Linked DNA regions of Homo sapiens: regions 2 and 3 are each linked to region 1. The links are contacts of gene promoters, found by promoter capture Hi-C in blood cells and fetal thymus (Javierre and others, 2016). All regions are on one chromosome and are shown on one strand. Each heading gives the region's core, a stretch centred on a gene start or on the middle of the fragment in contact. The rest is flanking DNA. Distances are from core to core; before and after follow the strand shown.

The links. The method cuts DNA at HindIII sites, captures the fragments that hold promoters and counts their contacts. A CHiCAGO score of 5 or more calls a contact.
Region 2: the fragment with the promoter of LDHAL6A here is called in contact with the fragment with the promoter of SERGEF in region 1 in 4 of 17 cell types (M1 macrophages, M0 macrophages, total CD4 T cells and 1 more); the score reaches 6.3 in M1 macrophages.
Region 3: a fragment that was not itself captured here is called in contact with the fragment with the promoter of SERGEF in region 1 in 1 of 17 cell types (M2 macrophages); the score reaches 5.1 in M2 macrophages.

The regions. Positions count from the first base shown.
Region 1 is chr11:18,011,109-18,014,791 of GRCh38, reverse strand. SERGEF (secretion regulating guanine nucleotide exchange factor) reads left to right here and starts at 1,745. Exons shown (of 11, transcript NM_012139.4): 1 at 1,745-1,841. The coding sequence starts at 1,782. RefSeq lists enhancers at 1,028-1,077, 2,436-2,952, 2,953-3,470 and a silencer at 1,458-2,077. The HindIII fragment of the contact is 12,002 bases long and covers 1-3,683 here.
Region 2 is chr11:18,454,158-18,457,840 of GRCh38, reverse strand. LDHAL6A (lactate dehydrogenase A like 6A) reads right to left here and starts at 1,985. Exons shown (of 7, transcript NM_144972.5): 1 at 1,035-1,985. The coding sequence starts at 1,160. The HindIII fragment of the contact is 8,824 bases long and covers 1-3,683 here.
Region 3 is chr11:17,728,638-17,732,320 of GRCh38, reverse strand. No RefSeq gene overlaps it. Among named protein-coding and RNA genes, the nearest start is that of KCNC1, 4.3 kb to the left of the region's middle. The HindIII fragment of the contact is 1,642 bases long and covers 869-2,510 here.

The DNA of each region.
Region 1 (3,683 bases), core at 496-2,995:
AAATTCTCTTGGACAAGGTCTAAGACCATCCCCCAGCCAGTTTGCTCAGGTATGGGAAATACTCACATGGGAAATGGACAGTTTTTATTTTGAAAAACTGTGGGTGTGAAAGACCTCCCCAAAGCATCAGTTTGTCTTTGCTCAGCTATTAGAGCAGATATCCAGCCACAAGCCCTTGTATTTCTCAGAACGGATTGGACAGAAGCCTGTCTGGGTCCTAAATCTAGAGGGATGCATACCAAGCTCTCTCAGGGACCCAGGTAAAGTAACTTTCCTTAGACCTGAGATGGGTTGAGACCCACACCACATTGATAATTGTGGCCACATATCCTACTAGAATTCTCTCTGGCCTCTCAACCTTTTTCGTAGACTGAAAGTCATACACTGGTTTCTAGACAGTTGCTTTGCAAGACCTGCTTTGGTGGTCTTGAACCTTACTTTATGATATAGGAGTAACTGGCACTTGTTGCTCAGCCAAAACTGAGCGGTGAAGGATCCCATTTTTACATCCTGTTACACATGCTTCAAAGAAATGGTCAGCACAAAAAAGCCCACTCATAAGACAGTCAGTAAGCATGGTATAGCTCCTGCACATTCAGATCCCTAGAGAATGAAGAGCTGTTTTATCTCTCCAAAGTTTGCTTTTTTCTTGGTATGGTCATCGACGTTCTCCAGATGCCACAGGTTGGAGAGATAAAGGTGAGGGGCTGCCCTCAAGTGGTCTTACAGGCAGAAACTCCTAAAAGTGGATGGAGTGAAAGAACAGGAAAGGACAGTGTAAGAGCTCATTGGAGACACTTCCCAGAAGCCCAGGGGTGAAGGGCAGTGAGTGCTGGAGGCCCGTGTCAGCAGAGGGGCCAAGTGCTACCGAATGTGAATGTGGATGATCATCTTTAATGTGACCCTATGTGTTCTGTATTCCCGGTACGCGGTGCCATATTTTCCTTCAGATAAATTGAACTTAATTAACTCCCATCAGCAACACGACGCTGTCTGAGAAAAGCCATTTTATATGGAAATGTTCGTTGGGTGACGATTATCCAGTATTATTAATAGAATGAGCTCAGGGCCGTGCCCGGAGCGCCGAGGCTGCCCCGGCAGGAGTCGACGCTAACCAGCCTCCCCCATTCAGCGTCGCGAGGCGCGGGTTCCCGCTCCGTGCCAGGTGCAGAGGGCGACACCGGCGACGTGCCACTCCACTCGCCTCCCAAGGCGCCCCCTCAGATGTTTGCGAACGCACACCAAAGCGGGCTCAAGACAATTGCGCCTGAGACGCCGGGCAGGACCCTGCCCTACCCCTCAGGCTCCATTTCCTGTTCCCGCAAATGGTGATGCCATCGCTGCCCTGTCAGCCCCTCTGGGCTGTCGTGGGCCTCCAAGGAGACAAAAACGCGAAGGAGCTTTGTGAACTGTGGCGCGCAGTGCACCTGCATGAAACATGAAATTATGACTAAAAATAAAGAGTACGAGGGGGTAGGAGCGAGAGGCTGAGAGGCCCAGCGAGACAGGAGGCTGCGGGCGGAGACGCTGCGAGCGCCGCCGGGGCGGGCTGACTGGGAGGCGGCTCCGGGGCTGTCGTCCGGCCCCGCCCACCACTGATCCCCAGTGGCCCGAGGGCCCGGCCGCACCCTCTCTCCCGGCCTGCGGGCCGCTTCCCACCACAGACCCCGCCCCGCGCCCTACCCATCACGCGTCCCCGGTCCGGCTCCGGCGCTCACCTACCCCCGGCAGGCGCCGCCCCCGTGCCGTCCCTCCCGGAAGCGCCGGCGGAGCGTCCTCGCATGGAGCGCGAGCCCAGCGCCTCGGAGGCCGCCCCCGCGGCGGCCGCGCTCTTCGCCTGGGTACGTGACTCCGCCCCCGGGCCGGTGCAGGCCCTGAGGGGCGCCGAGATGTGGGAGCTGCTGGCCGCGGCGTGGGCAGTTCAGGGGCTGGGCGGCTGAGGTCCGAGCCGGGCTCTGGGTTGAAGGATCCTGGGCTGGGAGCGGAGGGGGAGCGGAGGAGGAGCGGGCGGGCGGGGAAGGAAGGGTCTTCGCGGTCGACTTAGGGGCCTGCCGGCTGGCGGGGTCAGGGCCGGAGGGGCTGTGGCGCCGCGGGAAGAACCTGCCTCGGGGCAGAGCGTCTGGTTCCGCGAGAGCCCTCCAGCCCGAATAGCGCCTGGAAGACAGCGCGGAGGGCTCGGTGGAGAGGATCGCCCGGTCCCAGAGCTCCGTGGGGCCACCTGTGCCCCCCACACTCCTGATGCCTGGAGGAGGGAGACCCTGTCCCAGCCTGGCGAAAGCATCCTTTAGATGTGAGGCCTGCGGTGTTTGGCCGCGCACAAGGCACAGACCCTGCCTATTTGCTGACACTCTGCTGTGACCGGTTCTTGCATGTGTTGGGGGAGTTGGGCTGCTGTTGGTTTGACGGGAGCATTGGGAGAGACAGGGTCATCTTGATGTGTGTCTGGGAGAGAGGAGGGTTCATGCACAGGAGCGTGGCAGGTGGCCGACCAGCATGCACGGGAACAAGCAGTCGCTGCGTCTTGTGCTTCTTCATAGCACGTATCACAATTGTAATGATGTGTATAATTTATTATTAACGTCAGTCTCTCTGGCTGGAAAGTAAGTGTGGTAAGAGTGGGTGCTGTGCCTGTCTTGTTCACGGTGCCTCTCTTGGTGTCTGGCACATTGTAGGTCCCCAGTAAATACTCGTTGACGAATGAATGAACGAGCATCTGTGTGCCTACCCATGTGCTGGTGTTGGGGAAATACACATGAGTGAAATACACGAGTGAAGGACTTCCAGCTCTTGTGTTGGGGGAGAGCAAAATTATAACCTGTATTGCTGTTAAAATCAGTATTAGTTGTCCAATTTTTAAAGAAGTAATGATCAGTACAAGGCGGCAATTGTTGAATGTGGGGCTGCAATTTGGCAGGAGGGAGAGCATGGCGTGACCTGCGGTAGTCTGGCTGGCTGGGCGTCTTTGAGGTGGCCCGGGAGCTGGGGGTGGAGTTGGGGATTGAATGTGTGCTGTCTCTGGCTTTTTCCAGGCAGGAGACTGGCGTCTGTGTGGACAGAGGAAACAGAAATATTGTTTCAGTACAGACAAAGCCGAATATTAAAGGTTGTAAAATATGTTTAATAGGTTGTTGACACCCTTCTGCTGTGTTTGGAGGACTGGTAGTGTGTTTTTCCTGCTGTATAATCTGAAACTGTGGGGGTGTGTTGGTCGGCTAGGGCTACCATAACAAAATACCACACAACAGAGGCTTAAACAACAGAAATTTATTTTCTCACAGTTCCAGAGGCTAGAAGGCCAAGATCAAGGTGTGAGTAGGTTTGGTTTCTCCCGAGGCCTCTCTCTGGCTTGCAGATGGCCGCCTTCTCACTGTGTCCTCACATGGCTTTTTTCACTGTGTCCTCACATGGCCTTTTCTGTGTGCGTGAGCATCCGTGGTGTCTCTTCTTTTAAGGACACCAGTCATATTGGATTAGGGCCCCACCCTTATGACCTCATTTAACCTTAATTGCCCCTTTAAAGGCCTTCTTTCCAAATACAGTAAGGTACTAAAGGTTAGGGCTTCAACACGTGAATTTTGGGGGAATAAAGTTCGGTTCACAGGAAGGGGATTTACCTTGTTAGGGGTGTGTGTGTGTGTGTGTGTGTGTGTGTGTATGTGTGCATGTGCACGTGTGATATGTCT
Region 2 (3,683 bases), core at 736-3,235, 440 kb before region 1:
ATGTGTTGGGCAAAGCAAGGTGGCTCACATCTGTTATCTCAGCACTTTAGGAAGCCGAGACCTCCTGCTTGAGGCCAGGAGTTTGAGAGCAGCCTGGGCAATACGTGGAGGCCCCATCAAACAATCAATGAGTCACAGATGTGTTGGTTTTCACGTGTGTGTATTCTTCATTAGCAGTGAGGACACTGCTGATAAAGGCATTACAATAGGTAGGACAAAATGAATCATGGGGAATTTGTATGGCTGGCAGGAGCAGCAGTTGGCTGTGGCTGCTGTCCTTAGTGCCATAAGGTCACTATGTCATCTAGATATGAAACCCAGAGGCAATCCTTTAAATCCAATGACTCATGCCAGGATTAAAGGTTATATAAAAGATGGCTAAAACATTTTACAGATATTTCATTAATAAAAGTATAGCTCAGAGTGTCTTATGATTTATTAAAACTTTATGGTAATAAAGTTCATATCAGGGTAATATTCTTAGAAAGGGGTCAGAATCTTTTTTTGGCCTCTGTCTATAGCCATAAAACTTTATCAGCTGTATCAATACTAAGAACAGCTAAACACTAAAACTAACCTAACATGAATAAGGAACGAAGGGAAATAAAGATATACAGACTAGGAAATGGGAGAGAGATATTTAAATGAAAAAAGATTATTGTATTTGGTACTCGTAGGCTGCCTACCATCACTGACACGCTTGTATACTCTTTTCTGCCACCTATTTCTCTCCAGTTTGTTTTGTGAGCTGAGTTTCCAAATCAAGCAAAGGGGTACCTCATATTGTCATTACGTGAAAGTGAAATGTCAACATACTTTCACAGAGATGCTTCTAACCCACATGATATCATCATACAATTTTTAAAAAGGAGCGCCCTCTGGGTGAACAACTAAAAAAAGGGCACCTTTTCCTCTGATGCCCCTCACACTGGCTCCCCACTCACCACCTTGAACTGGACACAACCTCCACAACCATACGCTGTGGCCTCGCCTCCAACTGAGGTGAACCCTGTGGTGCAGAGCACACAACTTACTTTTAATAAGATGCTGATAGCACAAGCCACACCAACCGATCCAGTTCCTACAATGGAGATCTTATTGTGATGAATGGCCTCCTCTTCCGCGAAATTCTTAATAAGTTCACTCTTGATAGTTGCCATCTTGGAAACCTAACAGTGAAGACAAATTGCACAGCCATTTCCAAGACCTGGAATTGGAAATGGCTTGGAATTCCAAGACCTGCGGTGAGAGCGCGTATAGAGAACTCCTGGGCCCGTGTGGAAGGAGGTGCTGCAGACACACAAAAGACCGACAAATCTGACCAGCAAAGAAGCTGGGTAGGTTCTGGCCAGGCAGCTCAGCATCCATGAAGCGGACCAGGGGAAGGAGAAGGAAGCGTGAGTACAGTTAAGAGGAATTAAGAGAGAGAGAGAGGAAAGGAACAGGGGTTGCTCCACCAAACATGAAACTACAGCTGGGACGGCACTCCGTCCCGCAGCTGACCCCCTTTTCTCTCCCCTTTACCCTGCTGTTCCCCCAACCTCCAGTTCTCAGCTCCAGGACTGCGCCCGGGGTCCGCAGGTCCAGGTGAGAGGTACTTCTGGCCACACTCACAGGGGTGAAGGGCCACCCGCGCCCGAGCAGGTCACATGCCGCCTGGCGGAGACACAGAACCATCCTTGGGCAAAAACAATTCGCTCCCGCGGCGCCCGCTCTCTGGCTGCTCCCCAGGACTCTTGCAGCCCAGCTCATGGCCACTCACTCAAGAGGTGAAGAAAGAGAATGGAGGAAAATGGCGTTAAAGCTCATCGAGGCACGAAGGAGATGAACCGCCGACTAACAGACGCCGGGTCGCCCCCTTACTGCAGCTGCGCGGACCGCACCCAGCTCGTGCAGGCATCGCAGGTGTGATGCTTGGCAGGTGTGATGCTTGGCAGGTGTGATGCTTGGCAGGTGTGATGCTTGGCAGGTGTGAGGCCGGAAGCGGGCTGCGAAGCACCGCGCCTGCGCCTCTGCCTGCCCGCCCCGCCCCCGCGTGCGGGTGGGCGGGCTGCGGTGTAGGTGGTTGGCCGGCTGCAGAAGGCGCACGAGGTGCTGCAGGCACAACGCAGTGCAGGGCCTCTGCTGTTGGGCGGAGTTGTTTGCCTAGAACCCATCCACCAGAGAGCCCAAGTAATTTTATTTCTAACCAAACCTTGTCTGGATGTATCTGAAAAGGACTGTTTGACTCTCACGTGAAAATTTTCCCCCAGCCCTGTAGGAGAAAGGGACCTCAAGATTAACTTTTACCACCTCAAATGTGAGCTAAAGTAGAAAAAGTAAAATTTTAAAACTCTGGGCCGAGCGTGGTGGCTCACGCCTGTAATCCCAGCACTCTGGAAGGCCAAGGCGGGCGGATCACCTGAGGTCAGGGGTTCGAAATCAGCCTGGCCAACATCGTGAAACCACGTTTCTACTAAAAATACAAAAATTAGCTGGACGTGGTGGTGCACCCCTGTAATCCCAGCTACCTGGGAGGCTGAAGCACAAGAATTGTTTGTGAACCTGGGAGGCGGAGGTTGCAGTAAGCCGAAATTGTGCCACTGCACTCCAGCCTGGGTGACGGAGTGAGACCCTGTCTCAAAACAACAACAAAACTCTGTATGCAAAAGGAATTTGGAAATAAGATATGAAACCTGAAGAATTTGATGAATGCAGTGCCAATTGATAACCATTTTTACAAGATGAAGGGAAAGCTCAATTCATTATTAAGTGGTTAAATGTAGAATCCACACTTTGGGAGGCCGAGGCGGGTGGATTAGCTGAGGTCAGGAGTTCGAGACCAGCCTGGCCAACATGGCGAAACCCCGTCTCTACTAAAAATACAAAAATTAGCCGGGTGTGGTGGCACGCACCTGTAATCCCAGCTACTCAGGAGGCTGGGGCAGGAGAATCGTTTGAACCCGGGAGGCGGAGGTTTTGGTGAGCCGAGATCATGCCACTGCCCTCCAGCCTGGGTGACAGAGTGAGACTCCGTCTCAAAAATAAAAAACAAAAATGTAGAATTGAAAATCAGTCTGGAATAAACCAAGGTTTCTACTTCTCCCACCACATTTTACCTAATTGTTTTCTCATTTGTGAATCATAATACGTAATTTTGATGGTTAATACTGAGTGTCAACTTGATTGGATTGAAGGATGCAAAGTGTTGAACCTGGGTGTGTCTGTGAGGGTGTTGCCACAGGAAATTAACATTTGAGTCAGTAGGCTAGAAGACGCAAACCCACCCTCTATCCGGGTGAGCACCATCTAGTCAGCTGCCAGCACGTCTAGGATAAAAGCAGGCAGAGGAACGTGGAGGGACTAGACTGGCTAAGTCTTCCAGCCTTCATCTTTCTCCTGTGCTGGATGCTTCCTGCCCTCAAACATTGGACTCCTAGTTCTTCAGCTTTGGAACTCCGACTGACTTTCTTGCTTCTCAGCTTGCAGACGGCCTATTGTTGTGGGACCTCACCTTGTGATTGTGTGAGTCAATACTCCTCAATAAACTCCCCTTTATATATATAGCTATCCTATTCGTTCTGTCCCTCTAGAGAACCCTAATACAGTAATACATATTGACAAATTTTTATAAAATGTAGAGCAGTGTTTCTCAATCTTTTTTCATTATCACTCCCTCAAGAGTCTTTGTAGATATGTTCCCC
Region 3 (3,683 bases), core at 440-2,939, 280 kb after region 1:
TGGACGATGTGTTAGAAAGAGGGAGGTAGGCCAGGGTTGGAGGCAGAAGGAATGTGAAAGGGTATTCATTGCACCCTAAAGCCCATTACACCCTAAAATCCCCCAAGAGGTAAGCAGAGAAAACTCAGACACAGGAGCCTCCCCAGCAGGAGAGGGTAGCTGTTCCCAATGTGCCCCACACTGTTCCACTTTAGGATTCTCACTTTGATCCCTGATGACACACCCCCAGCCCAGGCCCCAAAGAATGGCCTCCCTTGTGGATCCTGAACAGGACATCAAACTTTCTTCTCTCACTTCCCCTTCACACTGCGAGAATGCTAGCATTTGCAAACAGCCTAGGAAAACCAAGAGGGCAACACAGAAGAAATCAACAAAAACCAAAAACCAGAAAACAGAGAAACAGAGGGTTTTGGGGGGAAATAGGAGGAAGAATGACTAACCATTCCCTAGCTTCTCACTCGCAAACACTAACGACAGACCCCCAGCTAGACTGAAAACCTCACTCCTTTTCCACTTTGGAGCAGCACCTCCTATTCGCAGCCATTTGCCCCTCCCTTGCAGAAGAAAGCTTGTGGTCTGGTGCCAGAGGGTCTTTGGTAGCTGGGGCTGGTGGGGGTGGGAGCAGTTGTGGTGTGGTATGTTCAGTGGCTAAGAGCACAGACTTTAAAACCAGACTGCCTGGATTCAAATCCCAGCTCCAGTACTGACTAGCTGTGACCTTGGGCAAGTTACTCAACTTCTCTGTGCCTCGTTTTTTGCTTTTACTGTTGTATTGAAATAATAATAATAACTCCTGTATCCTTAACATCTAAGTTCTAGAATTTCTCTTGTTTAGGCCCAAGGAGGGATTGCTGGGCTTCAGTAAGCTTCATGTAGGAAAGGCTAGAATATAAGCTGGTGTTGGGAGTGGACTAAAAAAAAGGTGAAGGGAGTTCTGAAGCCAAGTTTGGCCTATGTTTTCCCACCTGGCACTTGCAGGCCTTAGATCTGGTCCTGCTAAGCTCTGGAACTGGCCCAAGTCCAGCCCCTAGGCTTTTGTCCAGGTTGGCACATCCTCCATGCTGCTCTCCCAGGCCCAGAGCCTCAGCCCTCCTGGTGGGCTGGGGTGCCATCTTGTGGCCATGGCTGGGAACTAACCTAAGCTGGGTATTGACCGAGAAGGCTTTGAGGATAGTAACCCTGCTCTGATGGTAAGCCGTGGGGGTGGCAGACATCCCCTCCCTAGACCATACCGCCTGCCTCCAATGGTCAGGGAAGATTGAATCCAGAGATGCCGTAGTGGGAAATTGGCGACCTTGGCCACAGATCTGTAGGTTGAGCAGTGACCCTGGTAACCTGGGCTGAGCTGCAGCGAGGTATACAGCTAGCTGTTCCTTCTTGGAAACTCTGGGGCAGGGGCACCAACATGGCTTAGGCCATGGGAAGTCCAGAAAGGGGCCAAGGTGAAGAATACTCTTGGAAGGTGTCTAGACCAGGGTTTCTCAACTTCTGCACTGTTGACATCTTGGCTCAGATGTAATCCTTTGCCAGGGTTGGGGCCGGGTGCTGTACTGTGCATTGCAGGATATTTAGCAGGCCTCTGTCCACTAGGTGTCGGTAGAAGCCTCTTCCCTAGCAGTGATCACCAAAAAGGTCTACAGACACTGCCAAATGTACCCTGGGAGGTAAAATTTCTTCCGGTTGAGAGAACCACTGATGTAGACAGACTTGGTTACAAATCCCATTTTTGCTATTCACTAGCTGCGTCAACTAGTCCCATTCCCTCTCTAGGCTTCTATTTCCTCATTATCCATAAAGGGACCAATGTCTGGTAAGGATTAAATGACATGGTACCTCATTTCCTCTTCTTCCCTTTTCTCCCTTCCCTCGGGCTCCCTAGCCCACTTCTCATCCCTCTGTGACCAGCCCTTACACCCCCTCCCCCTCATGGACTCCTACCATCCTTCAGCAATGTCCCTTAGGGTGTCAGTGTGGCCCTGGGGACAGAGCATTAGCCCTCCCTGGGCCTGGATGCCTCTCCCTGCAGGCTGTGGGAGGGAGGTGCGGAAGTGTGAGATGAGATGATGGCTGTGGTGAACATGGTCAGGTGTGCATATATGTAAGGAGGCTGGGTGGGTACAGGCCCTCCTGCAAGCATGTTCACAGCAGGACTGTGCAGAGGACACTGAGTTCTCCTCCCAGAAGCAGCTGGAGACTCGTGGCTACCCTAAAGGTCTTCCCTCTGCGGCTCCTCTGATAGGGAGAGCCTGGCAAGTTCTCTTGTATGTACACCTGTGGATGTGTCAGCCTGCAGGTGAGCATGGTCAGTATGCAGAGGTGGGTCCAGGGTGTGTAGGGCCTGAAGCCTGGAAGTTTTGGGGGTCACTCTTTTAAAAAAAGAAAGCAAAAAAGAATACAAAGTTGGATACAAAAGTGAATATTTATTTAGACTTAGAAAAGGACTCAAGACCAAATATAAATTTTAAGAAGCTGACATATACTACAAATATTTAAAAATACAGAAAAAAGCTTCATATTTTTATTAACTGCACGGCACACCTATATAATGATTTAAAATAAGTTACATTTATTTGGAAGCATTCAGTATGCCAACAAAAACAGATGCAACTTTTTTTGCAATTACAGAATAATATTTAGTTAATACATTTATTTTACATAAGCTACATCGAAGATGACTGGAAATTAAAAAATCATCACCTTCCCTCCAATATAACTATTTTTTTCTGTGTACTAACAAGACCCTGCTTTACATTTCTATGCCAATTTATAGGTCCCGGGTAGTACCAGGCACAGTTAGTAGCTACTGAAAACACCTCCTGGACAGGACTACTTAAAGATACATTATGAAATGCAAGGGACCCAGAAAACTCACAACAGTATTGAAGAAGGAGAGTAAAGCTGGAGGACTCACGCTTCCCAATTTCAAAACTAACTACCACACTACAATAATCAAGACTGTGTGGTATTGGCATAAGGATAGATAGATAGATCAATGGAATAGAATTGAGAGTACAGAAATAAACTCATATATTTATGGTCAATTAATTTTTGACAAGAGTGCCAAGACAATTCAATGGAGAAAGAATCGTCATTTCAATAAATGATGCTGAAACAACTATATATTCATACGCAAAAGAATGAATTTGGATCCCATACTTACACCATATTAAAAATTTTAAATGGACCAAATTCCTAAATGTTAGGGCCAAAGTCATATAACTCTTAGAAGAACTTGAAGTAAGTAATCGTTTCTTAGATGTGATGTCAAAACCATAAGCAAAAAAAAAAAAAAAAAAAAGGAACAGGTAGATAACTTGGATCTTGGATCTCATCAAAATAAAATAGACATTTGTGCTTCAAAGGAAGTGAAAAGAATTCGCAGAATGGGAGATATAATTGCAAATCCTATATCTGATAAGAGTCTGATATCTAGATTAGATAAAGAACTCTCATAACTCAATGTATTAGTCCATTCTCACACTGCTATGAAGAAATACCCAAGACTGGGTAATTTATAAAGGAAAGAGGTTTAATTGACTCACTGTTCCACATTGCTGAGGAGGCCTCAGGAAACTTACAATCATGGCAGAAGGCAAAGGAGAAGCAGGCACCTTCTTCACAGGGTGGCAGGATGTAGTGAATGGAAGCAGGGGAAACATCAGACACTTATAAAACCATCAGAT